4 separate regions of the Homo sapiens genome follow, and regions 2, 3 and 4 are each linked to region 1. Evidence: promoter capture Hi-C in 16 types of primary human blood cells and fetal thymus (Javierre and others, 2016). All regions are on one chromosome and are shown on one strand. Each heading gives the region's core, a stretch centred on a gene start or on the middle of the fragment in contact. The rest is flanking DNA. Distances are from core to core; before and after follow the strand shown. Region 1 holds the start of NIT2 (nitrilase family member 2). Region 2 overlaps CMSS1 (cms1 ribosomal small subunit homolog). Region 3 overlaps TFG (trafficking from ER to golgi regulator). Region 4 overlaps ADGRG7 (adhesion G protein-coupled receptor G7).

Region 1 (3,742 bases), core at 1-2,500:
GGCAAACAGATATTTTGAGCTGTTATCAGAACAGCAGATAAATCCACTAAACGTCTCCCCTCCATTTCCCAGCGTTAAGCCATTCTCCCTCCTCAGCTTCCCAAGTAGTTTGGGACTAAAGGGGCGTGCCACCACACCGGGCTAATTTTGTATTTTTTAGTACAGACAAGGTGTCGCCATGTTGCCCAGGCTGGTCTCCAACTCTTGACTCGTGAACTCAAGCGATCCTCGTGCCTCAGCTTCCCAAACTGTTGGGATTACAGGCGTGAGCCACGTGCCGGGCCATGTCTGTGCTTCCGAGGGTGGGAAAGATAAAGCTCACCATGGCTACGCTGATGGCTTCCTCTCCTACACATCTCACCCACAAGGGCGGGGTCCTCAACTAAGCTTAGGACTGCCTATCATTCTGCAAATGACCCACTCTACAGACATGCTGCAGCAGGGAAACCCCGCCACTGGGCAGTTCCTCATGCTGAGGAGGAGACGCCCGTCACTCCATCTCATCTGTAAAGTGAAGACTTTTAAGGCTGCCCTAATATTCATCATAATCTAACAACGAAGACCTTACCAAGGGGCGGAAAAAAAGAATAAAATACTGTGAGCGAAGGAAACAACAAAGGAATAACATTTAAAGCAATGTGCCAGGTCCTTCACACATTAACATCATTGTGTGAGGTATCATTAACATCATTTTACAAATAAAGAAACAGGGGACTTGCAGGGGGAAAGCTGCACAAAGTCACTGAACAAAGTAAGTGACACAGCAAGAATCCAAGTCAAAATCTGGAGCTGGAAAGTGAGTGGGGAGACGAAGAACCGCCTGGGCACCTTTGTGCAGGGCGGGGCTGGAGGAGGTCACGCAACTTGAAAACACCCAAGGGAGTTGGATCCTACCACCGCGGCCCACACCGTGGAGAAATACACGTCCATCAGCCTCTGTCAAGCAGGACGCGGCGGGTGCCGGCGCGGCCGGGTGGCCTGGTGCTTTCTGGGCCTCGCCCGCCACCCCGGAAGCCTGGAATCCCGGGAGTGCGCCCGGCCGCCCGGCCACGCGATCCCGGACCCACGCGGACGCCCGCCTCAGGGAAGGCCGCGCACGGCGGGGACGCGGGGCGGAGGGGCTGAGCCGGCCGAGCCACCGCCGGCGCCGCTCCAAAGCCTCCCCCGCGGCCCGAACTCGAGCTGCAGCGCGCGGCCGCGCCACTTACAGGTCATGACTCTGCAGACAAGCACCACCTGCGGCGCGGACTGAGCGCTGGAGATCCGGCGGACCGCGGCGTCGCTACGGTGGGGCGGGGACCGCGTCAGAGGCCCCGCCCCACCCCTCCTCCTGGCCCCGGCCGGGAGGAGAGAAGGGTCTGCGTTCATTCCAGTGCGCCTGTAACACCAGGACGGACCAACGAGAAATGGTTAATTGCAACACAGTCCGGAAAAAGCATGCCTCGAAAGGCAAAGGGCAAAAGGGAACGGCCTAAGTCGAGGTGGTGTGCTGGTGAATGTCTTAACAACCAGACTTTTCAGGGAGGAAAGCCCTGATTTGTAGCGTTTGCTGATTCTCCGCAAAAGGACTGAACTTCTAGCTGGTTGAATCACCTCTGTGGCCAGGTTAACACCGTATGCTGATGGGCTTGAGCTATTTGAACAAGTCTCTGTGACGGGGACGGAATGACCCTGGTTGGTTTAGGCACGCGAGACGTCTGTAAAATCTGACTACAAGGCTGCTAGGCCAACGGGAAAGATGCTGAGGGTTCAACGCCATGCCCTCAACAAGTCAGTCCTCGAATACATTGTCATCTCTTTGCTAATATCCTTTTTTGTTTGTTTGTTTTAGACAGGGTCTCACTCTGTCATCCAGTCAGGAGTGCAGTGCAGCAGTCTCAGCCCATTGCAGCCTCAACCTCCCGGCTCAAGCGATCCTCCGTCCTCAGCCTCCCAAGTAGCTGGGACTACAGGCACACACCACCACACCTAGCTATTTCTTTTCCTTTTTTCTTTTTCTTTCTTTCTTTCTTTTTTTTTTTTTTTTAAGTTTTTTACTTTTAATAGAGGTGGGGCCTTGCTATTTTGCCCAGGCTGGTCTCAAACTCCTGAGCTCAAGACCCTACTGCCTTAGCCTCCCAAAGTGCTGGAATTATAGGCGTGAGCTGCTGCGCCCAGCCTATAGACTATGATTTTTGCATTTTTATTTATTAGATTGCTTTTTAATTTTCGTGTTTTGTGTTTTTGTGCCTTGTCAGACTTGTGGAACAAAAATCCAAAACTTAACCACCTTTTGGAATGCCCCAGAATAGTTTATACTGAAACAGATCTTGGTTTGTAAAAGAACACTATAAAAACATTTTGGGGGCAACTAGGGAGATTTAAATATGAACGAGATATTTGATGCTTTTCTGAATTATTTTGTGTGCTATAGTGTTGTGCTTGTGACAATTCTTTACTCTTAGAAAATGAGGAAGTATTAGGGATGAACCATCAGAATGTTTGACTTGAAAATCGTCAGCAAAAAGAAAACACATAAGATAAAGCAAATATGGCAAAATGTTAATTATTAAATCTAGGAGGAGGACACAGCTGTTCATGGTACTAGATTAAAACTTTGTAGAAGTTTAAAATTTTAAGCTTTCATAAAAAAAAATTGGGGGGAAATACATAGCAGTTATGGTCTTTCTGCAGCTTAAGAGACTATCTGGACTTGGCTTTGTAGCAGGAAGATCTTTAAAAACCTTTTCATTTCTGCTATGCTTATTAACCTATGAGGTTTCAGGGTCAACCTGTGGTCACTTACAACCTGTTAAAAAAATTCATCTAGATTTCCAAATTTATTGGACTAACATTGTAACTAATAGTGGTCCTAAACCTGGCTGGAAATGTTATTTGAAGTGCTTGTTCAAAATGCAAATTATTTCATTTTTTTAGAAGTGGATTCTTACAGTGTTGCCCAGGCTGGTCTCAAACTCCTAGGCTCAAGTGATCCTCCCACTTTGGCTTCAAAAAGTGCTGGCCTTATAGGCATGAGCCATGGCATCCAGGTGGAGATGCCCAGTAGGCAACCGGACCAAAGCCTCAAGCTCAGAAGATGTCTGGGCTGGAAATTGACTTGGGAGTCACCAGCAGTTTTAACTAAGAGGAAGCTCTGAATTTGGATGAGAACACACAAGCGGAGTATGAAAGGCACACGCAAAAGAAGAAGGGCCTGTGGAGCCTGGGAAGGAGCCATTAGAGGAGAAGGACCAGGCCGGGCGCCACTGCCTGGTGGAGGAACAGCTGTGTCCTCCTCCTAGATTTAATAATTAACATAATCCCAGCACTTCAGGAGGTGGAGGCAGGTGGATCAAGAGGTCAGGAGCTCGAGACCAGCCTGACCAGCATGGTGAAACCCCGTCTCTACTAAAAATGCAAAAATTAGCTGGGCGTGGTGGCACACACCTGTAATCCCAGCTACTCAGGAGGCTGAGACAGCAGAATCACTTGAACCTGGGAGGCGAATGTTGCGGTGAGCCGAGATTGTGCCACTGCACACCAGCCTGGGTGACAGAGCCAGACTCCATTAAAAAAAAAAAGAGAGAGAGAGAAGCAGGACCAGGAGAAGGCCATCAAGACCAAAAGCCTATGGGTACTGTGTCCCTCTGTCACATGCAGGGAAACTGCTGACTTGGGCACTAGGGGTGTTCCTAGAAAAGGAAAAGCTAAATGAAAGTGCGCTTTTTAAACCTTTCTTTAGAACTTTCTGGGCACAATGGAA
Region 2 (3,742 bases), core at 449-2,948, 480 kb after region 1:
CATCACTATCAGAAGTGCTAATTCCTTCAAATTCAGTAGCATAACCAGCTGTCTTTCCCTCTCTCTGACACACATGTACAACCACACAATGTGTAACAGCATTACACGCAAGCAACTGGCTCTGAAAAGATTCCATCAGGGCCTCCTGCTCTCAGTTCTCACTGGTTCCTTGTCCTGAGCTCCCAAGTTGATGGCTATGGGTATAGTTTTTTCTGCATATAAATTCTTGTTTACCTTCCCGACAGGCTTTACTAGACTAGACAGCTGACTGTCCTATGGTGCGCTCATGAGAGTGGCCCAAGAAAATAGCAGGTTATTGGAAAACAAGTAGTAAGGAAATGCTTAGAGAAAATGCATTCAAATAATCAGACAGAACTTGGGGAACAGATGGGGATGCCAACTAATTTACAAAAACCATGAAAAAGATGCTTATGTTTGCATCATGCTGAAAAATACGCAACATGCCCCAGGCTGAAAAATATGCATCATGCCTACTCCAAAAACACTGAACAAAATGGAAGCAACTGAATTTTTTTCTAAACCTTTTTTGCAGGTTACTGCACTGCACTCACTAATCACCATTCCCTTTTAATACTCTTTTAATTATACTGCAAAACAATCTTCCCTCCCTTATATCCTAAGAAAACACACCCCCTTCTCATAAAAATGACATAGCACATGCTATAATTTAATAAGTTGAAAATAAATATTTAAAAGCTTTTGTGAAACTGTTCTCTAATAAAACTGTAAGAACTGTGGTGTAGAGAGGGGAAAAATATTTCACTGTAATTATGCTCAAGGCATTGTCAAAACCATTACATCGAATGAATTCTAATGCTAAGGCAGGAGAAAGAAGCACTTTGCCAAAGTTTTTTTTAACTATTTCACCACCAAAGCAGTTTACCCATGGACTCTGCCACTGGGTTGAGAAGTCCCATGACCATTTGAGAAGAAGCTGCTATGCTTATCTTTTCAGGCTCTCATGTGTCTCAGATAGGGATGGGGCATGGCCAGAAACCATGGGCAAGCCTTTTGCCAAGACCTTGGATGAGATCATCATCAACGACACCCCAGCATCCTGCCTAGCATCTTCTGAATTTTATAAGCCACAGCCCTTGGGCCAGCCTCCTGTTAAGTTCTCAAAACAGAAAAAACTAAAAGTGGACTCCCACAAAAAAGATGCAGAATTCTTATACAATTATTTTCAACATGTTCCTCCTATGGAATGTAATTACAGAAAATTACAGAAAAGAGCAGATTAGAATCTCAAAAAGAAGGACTCAATTTCCAAGACGATGACCCTAAATTAGTTTCCTTTTAAAATGTTCTCTCAGCCGGCACGGTGGCTCACACCTGTTATCTCAGCACTTTGGGAGGCCGAGGCAGGTGGATCACAAGGTCAGGAGATCGAGACCATCCTGGCCAACATGGTGAAACCCTGTCTCTACTAAAAATACAAAAATTAGCTGGGCGTGGTGGTGCGTGCCTATAATCCCAGCTACTCGGGAGGCTGAGACAGGAGAATTGCTTGAACCAGGGAGTCAGAGGTTGCAGTGAGTCGAGATCGCCCCACTGCACTCCAGCCTGGCGACAGAGTGAGACTCAATTTCAAAAAATAAAATAAAATAAAATAAATAAAAAGTTCTCTCAAATCCTTACACAACTTTCAAAAAGTAAGTTCTGTGATAAGGATGATAGACATGCATTTGATAATTAACTCATTCCTAATAGAAAAGATACATTAAAGTTTTATGAATTCTCTATACCTATCAGAATGTAAGTAGTCATAACTTCATCCATGACAAGTCCTTTGGTTCAATTCCTTAGGGATTCCATTCTATTTTAGCTTCTGTATAACAGTACTGCAAAGCTGTAATTACATCCTCTATAATCAGCCCATTCGCAGTATAATTGAGAGTGCCACAAATTTAAAACTTTGACCTCACTACTTAAGTGGAAGAGATAGTTTATACTACATGTAAAATACCCTCCTGTTATGCTGACAAATTTAAAACATAAAAGAAGAAAATAGCATGTCATAGTAGTCATCATTTAAGAGGGAATTATTATGTTCCTGATAACAGAGTTTCTCTTCTGTCATGTCTAGCATCAGACTCTCATCAATAAGCACTTTCCTACCAAACCGCATGCTCTTCTCAAATGTTATGAAAACACCAAACCCATACAGATGTCTCTCAATTCTCCTCATTTAATTGCTATCCACTATGAGGATAAGATATATGTGAAGTAGTTCCTAGAATAATGTTGTGCTAGTGCAAACCAAGTTTTAATTGGCACAGAGGTCTATCAGTGAAGTGCATAACTTCTAAGCAATGTGACTAAATTTTTTCTTAACTAAGAATCAAGGACTTGAACATCAAACATTAATTGAACACTTTGGTTCAAGCAAGCCATTTGATAAATATAATAACCATATTAATAAAGACAGCAGCAACAACTAATACCAAATGCTTACCATGTGCCAGGACAATGAGAATCTTAGATGAATTACCGCATTTAATTTTCATAAAAAGCCCCTGAAGTAAATAAAATTATTGCCCCCATTTTTCATATGAGGAAATTGAGGCTCAGAGATGTTAAATAACTGCCCAGATCAATTAGTTGGTAAGAGTAGGGTCGGCCTTGAAGCCAGGTCTAACTGCATCATCTCAAGCTTGTGGCTATTTTCACAGCCTTCAGGCCAGACTGCCTACTAATTACATGTTACCCAAGCAATTTAAACTAAATATTCTTGCCCTTACTCTTTTACTAAGGCTCCTGGTGAAATGCAGCTGTTACTGATCAATGGTAGTCAAATAAAAAAGCAAGATAACTTTATCAAGATTTTCCTCTGTCATCAAATTCAGGAACTCTTTTGCATATTGTATATGAACTGACACAGCTCATATAATTACATAATTTCTAAATTACATATATATTTAAGTACATTCGATGAGTTACTAAAGCATCAATCACAAAATAAAATGCACTTTACATTTTTCAGATTAAAGAAGCTAATTGATCAAGAAATCAAGTCTCAGGAGGAGAAGGAGCAAGAAAAGGAGAAAAGGGTCACCACCCTGAAAGAGGAGCTGACCAAGCTGAAGTCTTTTGCTTTGATGGTGGTGGATGAACAGCAAAGGCTGACGGCACAGCTCACCCTTCAAAGACAGAAAATCCAAGAGCTGACCACAAATGCAAAGGAAACACATACCAAACTAGCCCTTGCTGAAGCCAGAGTTCAGGAGGAAGAGCAGAAGGCAACCAGACTAGAGAAGGAACTGCAAACGCAGACCACAAAGTTTCACCAAGACCAAGACACAATTATGGCGAAGCTCACCAATGAGGACAGTCAAAATCGCCAGCTTCAACAAAAGCTGGCAGCACTCAGCCGGCAGATTGATGAGTTAGAAGAGACAAACAGGTCTTTACGAAAAGCAGAAGAGGAGCTGCAAGATATAAAAGAAAAAATCAGTAAGGGAGAATATGGAAACGCTGGTATCATGGCTGAAGTGGAAGAGCTCAGGAAACGTGTGCTAGATATGGAAGGGAAAGATGAAGAGCTCATAAAAATGGAGGAGCAGTGCAGAGATCTCAATAAGAGGCTTGAAAGGGAGACGTTACAGAGTAAAGACTTTAAACTAGAGGTTGAAAAACTCAGTAAAAGAATTATGGCTCTGGAAAAGTTAGAAGACGCTTTCAACAAAAGCAAACAAGAATGCTACTCTCTGAAATGCAATTT
Region 3 (3,742 bases), core at 1-2,500, 390 kb before region 1:
GATTTTTTTTAAAATTCCATTAAGAGATTATTTTAACCGATATATGTAGTCAATTTCTGTGTACTGTGATTAGTATTCTGTTCTATCTATTGAGCTTTCTACCTCTTTTATTCCGCCACCACTTTCTACTGAACTGAACAGGTACCCTTGTTTTCTTTTTTTCTCCTTTCCTGACAATGTCTAATTTTTCAATTATAACTCTTACATGTACACCATGCATACTTCTGCATATGTAGTATGCAATTAAAAAAATCTAAAGGTAATTACAATGTTCCTCCCAAATAAGTCCTTAAAATATTTTTATTCCTATCATCCCTTCCTTTCTTACATATTATTGCCCAGTATTTTTGTCCCAAATTGTTTTTATTCCCTAAGACTATTAATTTTGTAACAATCAATGCTCATTAAAACGTACACATAAATTTCATTGGTGCTTCCCAATCCCCTGACAGCCCAAGGTTTAAGAGTTAAGCTTCCTTGACTTTTTCTGTATCAATGGAAAAGCTTTTCTAAAATAGTTTTTGAAAGCATAGCCTACTGACCAAGCAACAGTTTATCTGCTCACATTGCTTCTTGCATCTTTCACCACCTTCTGGACTAAATTTCCTTCTTGATGAAGACCACTGTTAAAAATTATTTTAACAAGGGTCCATGAGTGGTAAATTCTCAGTCTTTCAAAGTATTTTTACTTCTCCTCATTCGTGAAATTTAGTGGAGTATAGGATGCTACTTTTCTAGTTATTTTTCTTTACTGTTTGCAACTGTGATAATACTGTCTTTTAGCCTCTATTATTACTATGAAGAAGTCTACTAACAGTCTAATTGTTTCATATGTGATCAGTCTTATTCTCTCTGGCTACTTTTAAGGTAATCTCTCTGTCTTAAGACATTTTCCAGTTTCATGACAATATGTCCAGTGGGGATTTACTTTTACTTATCCCTGCTCAAGGCTCCCCGTGCCTTCTGAATCTGAGGGTCTATAGCTTTTATATAACTCTGAAAATTTCTTTAGTCATTACCTCAATGTATTTCCACTCTCCCATTCTCTCCTTCTTGAAACTCTGAATAGAAATATTCTGGATGTTCTCATTTTCAACTTCTCTTTTGCCTGTGTTTTTGTGCTTTACTCTGTAATTTCTTTGGATTTCCTTTTCAGTTCACTAATTCTCTTTTTAGCTATGACTAATGTGTTTAACCTATCCACTTAGTATTTAATTTCAATGATTATATTTCTCATTTCCAAGTTACTTTAAGTTCTTTATAAAATCTGTTTATTGTTTTTCCATAATACAATAGCATCTTGCTCTTATGTTCTCGTTTTGTTTTGTTTTTTCTGAGATGGAGTCTCACTCTGTCACCCAGGCTGGAGTGCAGTGGCGCGATCTCGACTCACTGCAACCTCCACCTCCCAGGTTCAAGCAATTCTCCTGCCTCAGCCTCTCAAGTAGCTGGGACTACAGGCACACACCACTACAGCTGGCTAATTTTTTGCATTTCAGTAGAGATAGGGTTTTACCGTGTTGCTCAGGCTGGTCGCGAACTCCTGCACTCAGGCAATCCGCCCGCCTTGGCCTCCCAAAGTGCTGGAATTACAGGCGTGAGCCACCACGGCCGGCTGCTTTTATATTCTTATTCCTTCTTCTATGTCTTAAATAACTTTTAATTTTGTAGACTATCACATATCTTAACTGAAGTTGTTGAAAATCTAATCCTGCTATTAGTTGTGTCCAGTGGTTCTTGCTTACCTGACAGCTTCATGTGTCTTACGGTTTTGTCTGTGAGAAACCTATGTGACCTGGATTGAGAATATACCCCTCAAGAGAGATTTTGGCCTTTCTTCTGAGATTTTTCTAAAATGGTAACATCTGGGCTTGGGAGTTACCAAACTACATGGATAGTTTAAATTTAAACCCAACTCACCTAAGGACCACAATTATGAATCCTGAAGGGAGACTTCCCAAGCCCCTGACGGCCCAAGGTATAAGAGTTAAGCTTCCTTGACTTTCCCTGTATCAAGGTAGACTTTTCTAAAATATTCTTTTTGAAAGCATGGCCTACTGAGGGACTAGGACCAAGGGCCTACACCATGTAGACACCAGATGGCAATTCCTTAAATTATGCAGGCTAAAATCTCTACTATCACCACCAAGAACACCCCAAGTTTCAGCTTTTGGTACATCAGGCCTTTAGTTCCCTCTACTTTTTTGTTCCCTGGATATTTCCCTTACTTTCCTGTGCAAGCTGAGTTACAGAATTCAGAAAACACATTTGTAAGTTTATCTAGCAGATCCTGTTTAAAGTAAGGGTCTTCAGATTATCTAATCTGCTTTATGCCTAGTCAATAGTTAAGTATTTTACATTCAATACTGTAAAAAGATACCTTTATTTTAAATAATTTTAAACAGTTTTTGTTATTAACATTTAAATTCTGATTATTCATATTCATCCTTCCTAGATGGAGATGAAATAGATACAAATTAAATCAATAGACCATGATCATATTTCACACTGAACTCTAAGTTTCATGCAACAAAATTAAAAAAAAATAAAATTAATGCTAAACAAAACAACAAAACAGCCGGAAAAAGTGTACACATTTTATTTTTCACATAATCACACTACCATTTAACTCTGTAATCTTTTCTATCTTGTCCCTTAAGAGTTCTGCCTTGCATATCTATTAAGATCTAAAAGAAAAAATCTAAAAGATTAAAATTAGTCTTCTATTGGTTTTTATCAGAACTATTTTTAATCTTTAAGTACCCCTCGGGAAATACTGTCTAAAGCAAGGGTCCCCAACCCAGTGCTACTCTGTGGCCTGTTAGGAACCAAACCGGGCTGGGCAGCACAGCAGGAGGTTAAGTGGTGGGCTCCGCCTCCTGTCAGTTCAGCAGTGGCATTAGATTCACATAGGAGTGTGAACCCTATTGTGAATTGCACATGCAAAGTGGAAGAGTTTCATCCCCAAACCTTCTCCTGCCCCCTTCCATAGAAGAACTGTCTTACACGAAACCAGTTTCCAGTGCAAAAAGGTTGGCGACTACTGGTTTCAAGTATCAGACTTACATGTTAAGCCCTGATAATAAGTAACAACATACTGTAATGTGAAGGAAGATAATTACAATTTAAAAATTCTAATACAGCTAAATTAAAACTATAATACTGCACCAGGGATACCTAAGTTATACCTGATTTCAAAAAAAACATACTTAACACTCTGTTCTTACTGAATTAAACTTCTATCATTTTCTTAAAAACATACACAGCCATAAGCTTCAAGTAATCTAAAACAACTACCTGAACACAAATAAATGTAATAATATTTGAATAAGTTATTGCTTACCTGAGTCTTTAAAAGGAAAAAAGCCAAACATCTTTAAAATACAATGAATAAAATAGTAAATTCATTAGAAAGTTTACTACTCACCAAATAATGTCAGTTTCAGTATCCTACTGCACTGAATTGCAAAGGAAAGGTCAGAACTATCAAAAATTGTTATAAGATCTCCATCTGGAATTTAAAAAAAAAAAAGGTTGTTTTTTAATTTTTTAAATTTTCAGATTTGTATAAGCAGTAAACTAGTAAAAATTAAAAATCCAAAATGTAGATTGTAGAACATAGTTGGACTCTCCCATAGAAACCTTAAACTTTAAAGGTCTAGCAAAAATGCATTTGTTCAAAAATATACTAAATCAATTTTGCTTATTACTCTTATGGCAAGGTATTTACACATATCCACAT
Region 4 (3,742 bases), core at 917-3,416, 310 kb before region 1:
CATGTTTTGTAAGTTGTTCGTTCCTGAGGTGACAGTTCAGATGGAACCACCAAAGAGCAGAGCTCTGAGCTCATTGCCTCAGCTATGAACTAAACCCTGAAGGTTTTTACAATGTTCTTTTCTACTTTGGCTAAGTTCAAAGATAGATTAGATGGAAGGTGGGAGGGAGTGGGGGCAACCTGTCAATTTGGCATTCTCCAAAGAAAAGTCATAAGACCTTTTCTTTTTCTTGTTTCCCATAGAAATATTTGAACTATTTCTGTACTTGACCAAACAAAACCTCTGTATGTAAAATAATCAGTCTAGTTCTTCCAGAAATGAAAGGATTTCATCAAAATGTAGTTGTTCTATATGTCAAATCTTTATTTCTGACACTAAAATATCTTTTCTCTACCTCCAAATGAGATAAAAAGAAAGTTTACAATAATTGAGGATTGCTTTATAAAGAGAACATAATCATCATTCGTATGGAAACATTCAGGTTAGATCCTCTGATTGAAATGTTTTCCTTTTATAAAACCATTTTCAGCAATTCACACATACCCCAGAGCTGCTTTCAATGGGAGGAATACCTAACAAAACTCCCACCTGCTAAGAATATCATTCTACCAAACAGTATCTGTTGAGTATCTATGTAGAGGTCAGCACTCTGTGAAACAGTGGGAGTTCCAGGAGCTGCTCCCTCAGGCATTTGCAGGCTAAAAGGAAAGATGTGGTAGATATACAGGAGGTGTTTTTCATGTTCCCACTTTTACAGGGTTGCTCTAACCATAGCTACTTCTAAGGTCATTTTTTCTTTCTTGTACTTCTTTCCTCCTCTTGTCATAACTGATAAGATTACAGATGGGCACCTGCCCCAGAGAAGCCAATCCAGAAAGTGGTCATCCACCTGGCACAATTGACTAAAATAAGTCATCAGATTCTTGGAAACGGGGTTTTTTTTGATTAGTGCTGTAGTTATATCAGGAAAGTCATAATTTAGAGGAAGCCAGAGAGGTCATTACATCATTGTGAGAAAAACCACAAATTAAAAATAAGAGGCTAATTCTTCCTGTTGAAAATAAGAAAAGACCTGTAAACTCCTCTACTAAGGCTTCCAAAGCTGCCTTGGATCCTCAGTCATCTTCCTGCTCCAGGGTCCATATGGCAATAAAAGAAAATAAAATTTCAAGACCCTCTAAATTTATTATGTCAAAAGGAAGTTAAGCCCTGGAGACTGAATCACGTGTAGCGTGTTTGCAACTTCTGCTTATTAGATTATAGATTAACTCTCTTCCTCATTGTTCTTGTTCTGTAAATGACTAGGAGAGGCCAGACCTTTCCCCTTTCTAATGACTGATCTATGTTACAGATTAATTGCCTCCTTTTTTGTCCTGTACCTAACTCAGACCATTTAGCTCATGATTGTTACGTCTTCAGTGTAATTGTTACACCTTCAGTGTGGAATGTTAAATACACATTTCCCAAAAGAAAAAGACCACCTCAGCTAATCAGATTACTATAACCATGCATTACTATAAGCCTTATATAGAAAGCCTTATATAGAAAGACGTTAAAACTCTCTTAAGCTTCCCTAAACTTTGTTTATATAAATGATCCCAAACTTATATACTTCAAAACATTGACTTCCATTTTTTGGAATTTGTGCTTCCCAGGCAGCTGTCCTTAAACTTTGCACTTGAACGAACTCTCTTTAAACTAGATTCTGACCTTTTTGATTATTTTGGGTTGACAAGGCCCACTATATTATGATCTAGTTCTTGGGCCTCCATGAGACCCCATATGCCTATTTACGATAAATCTCTATTTGTTCAAGATATTTGAGTGGGTGCCAGGCTAGCTGGAACAGAAATAAAAAAAGAAAAGCGAAATGTAAATGTACAGGTGGTCAGTGCTAGGGAGGCATTTTGCATTCCCAAAGTCAGATAAACCAGGGTAATTATGACCTTCAATATGAGATCAAAGGTCTAAGGTTACAGATCAGACTATGCAAGCAATGTCTACAATGGTGAGGTCAGCCCGTCGCGGTGGCTCACGCCTATAACCCCAACAGTCTAGGAGGCCAAAGCAGGTGGATCACCTGAGGTCAGGAGTTCAAGATTAGCCTGATCAACATGGTGAAACCCTGTCTCTACCAAAAATACAAAAATTAGCTGGGCAGGGTTGTGCATGCCTGTAATCCCAACTACTAGGGAGGCTGAGACAGGAGAATTGCTTGAACTTGGGAGGCAGAGGTTGTGGTGAGCTGAGATCTTGCCACTGTACTCCAGCCTGGGTGACAGAGCAAGACTCCGTCTCAAAAAAAGGAAAAAAAAATGGTGAGGTGAAGTCCTAAACTCATTGATTGTACTATGATGCCCTCACCAGCAGAAACCCTACACCTCCAGAGCTCTGCCCACTTTGACAGAGTCAAAGAGTCTTTCTTCTCTGTCACTCTCCTCCCTTTTATTCTCACCCTCTCCTCTTCTCCCTATACTATAGAAAGGCAATTCAGTAGCTGAGAGATACCAAGAGAAAACTGGAATGAAAGAAGGAAGAAGTCAAAGTGAAATGGGTGACTAAGGCCTGATGTCTGTCAGGGAACCCAGCATCTGGCCTAGGTTCAGAAGATAGAGTTTGGAAAGCAAATGTTGTCCTAAACAACAATTAATTTCCTTCTCGTGGAGAGATGACCTCTGTTGGAAGCTCATCAAGAGTATTCTCCTAAAGAGAGCTAAAGGGTTGTTGACCTGACCTTGGGGCTAGAAGCAGAGGAGGAAGCTTTATCTAAGTGAATGAAGGAAGGATCTGAGTCCACAAGAGCTTATGCAAAAGATCACGTTGGTAGAAGATAAACTGATGGAACATTATTAGAAAATAATTGGACTAGAAATTCAGAGTGATAAAAGGAGAAATTGAGCATGCTTACACCATTTTAAGGTTCACTGTATCTTATACCTTAAATTTTTATTTATCCTTTAACCACCTCCTTTAAAACTATTTGGATATTGTGTAAAAATCACACAAAATTGTATTTTCCTTTATATATTAAGTCAGCAAAATTCATAATTATTTATTTTTAGGAAAATGTTCCTATCTTTTTTGTGAACTGTGATGTTCAAATCCCACAACTTCTCTTTTCCCAGCTTTCTCACCAAAAACGTTCATTCCTCCCGTCTAGCAAGAATCTGCAAACACAAAGCTTTCATCTCTGAAGGGAGCCCACTCTGGCTCTTGGCCTCTCTGTTCACTGAACATAGACTCTGGACCCCATGGCCACTTCCTTCTCATATGTCAAGAAAAATGAGAGACATCCACATTCTCCATGAGAAGGGCCCAGACTCCTATTGAAATCTGAAGTCACAAAGTATGCCAGTAAAACTGTTCACTCAACCTCTACAACCACCTCTCAGAATTGTAATCTTTGAATGCTCTATTTTGTGCCTTTGTGCTTTTTCTACTTTGAAAATTCAACGCTAAGTAGGTACTTGTCATAATCATTAGAAAACTAAGAACTACTTCTAGGAATTTCTCCTGAGGAAATAATGGGTCGTGTAAATAAAGATTATGTACCAGAATGCTAATTACTTAGAACATTAAAAGACTTCCAGCAATGTAAATGTCCAGTTGCTGAGCAGAGAACTGGTTCAATAAAAGTTTACACATATAATGCAGTAAACTAAAATTATGATGTAGATGTGTATATATTTATATAAAAGATGTTTACAGAAAAAAGTTTGTAAGGTATTAAGTGACAAAAGCA

The links. The method cuts DNA at HindIII sites, captures the fragments that hold promoters and counts their contacts. A CHiCAGO score of 5 or more calls a contact.
Region 2: a contact is called between a fragment that was not itself captured here and the fragment with the promoter of NIT2 in region 1, in 3 of 17 cell types (monocytes, naive B cells and M0 macrophages). The highest score is 5.5, in monocytes.
Region 3: a contact is called between a fragment that was not itself captured here and the fragment with the promoter of NIT2 in region 1, in 1 of 17 cell types (total CD8 T cells). The highest score is 5.3, in total CD8 T cells.
Region 4: a fragment that was not itself captured here is called in contact with the fragment with the promoter of NIT2 in region 1 in 2 of 17 cell types (megakaryocytes and endothelial precursors); the score reaches 8.7 in megakaryocytes.

Annotation. Positions count from the first base shown.
Region 1 is chr3:100,332,265-100,336,006 of GRCh38, reverse strand. NIT2 (nitrilase family member 2) reads right to left here and starts at 1,250. Exons shown (of 10, transcript NM_020202.5): 1 at 1,209-1,250. The coding sequence starts at 1,215. RefSeq lists silencers at 228-522, 921-1,250 and enhancers at 491-570, 691-750, 771-820, 914-1,482. The HindIII fragment of the contact is 2,232 bases long and covers 390-2,621 here.
Region 2 is chr3:99,850,333-99,854,074 of GRCh38, reverse strand. The region is part of intron 1 of CMSS1 (cms1 ribosomal small subunit homolog); the gene reads right to left. FILIP1L (filamin A interacting protein 1 like) reads left to right here. Exons shown (of 6, transcript NM_001387850.1): 5 at 3,005-3,742. All of the region lies in intron 1 of LOC105374010 (a long non-coding RNA gene), which reads right to left. Among named protein-coding and RNA genes, the nearest start is that of HP09053, 28 kb to the right of the region's middle. The HindIII fragment of the contact is 1,957 bases long and covers 720-2,676 here.
Region 3 is chr3:100,719,744-100,723,485 of GRCh38, reverse strand. TFG (trafficking from ER to golgi regulator) reads right to left here. Exons shown (of 8, transcript NM_006070.6): 3 at 3,428-3,511. Among named protein-coding and RNA genes, the nearest start is that of TFG, 12 kb to the right of the region's middle. The HindIII fragment of the contact is 1,488 bases long and covers 507-1,994 here.
Region 4 is chr3:100,639,096-100,642,837 of GRCh38, reverse strand. All of the region lies in intron 6 of ADGRG7 (adhesion G protein-coupled receptor G7), which reads right to left. Among named protein-coding and RNA genes, the nearest start is that of ADGRG7, 31 kb to the right of the region's middle. The HindIII fragment of the contact is 1,192 bases long and covers 1,571-2,762 here.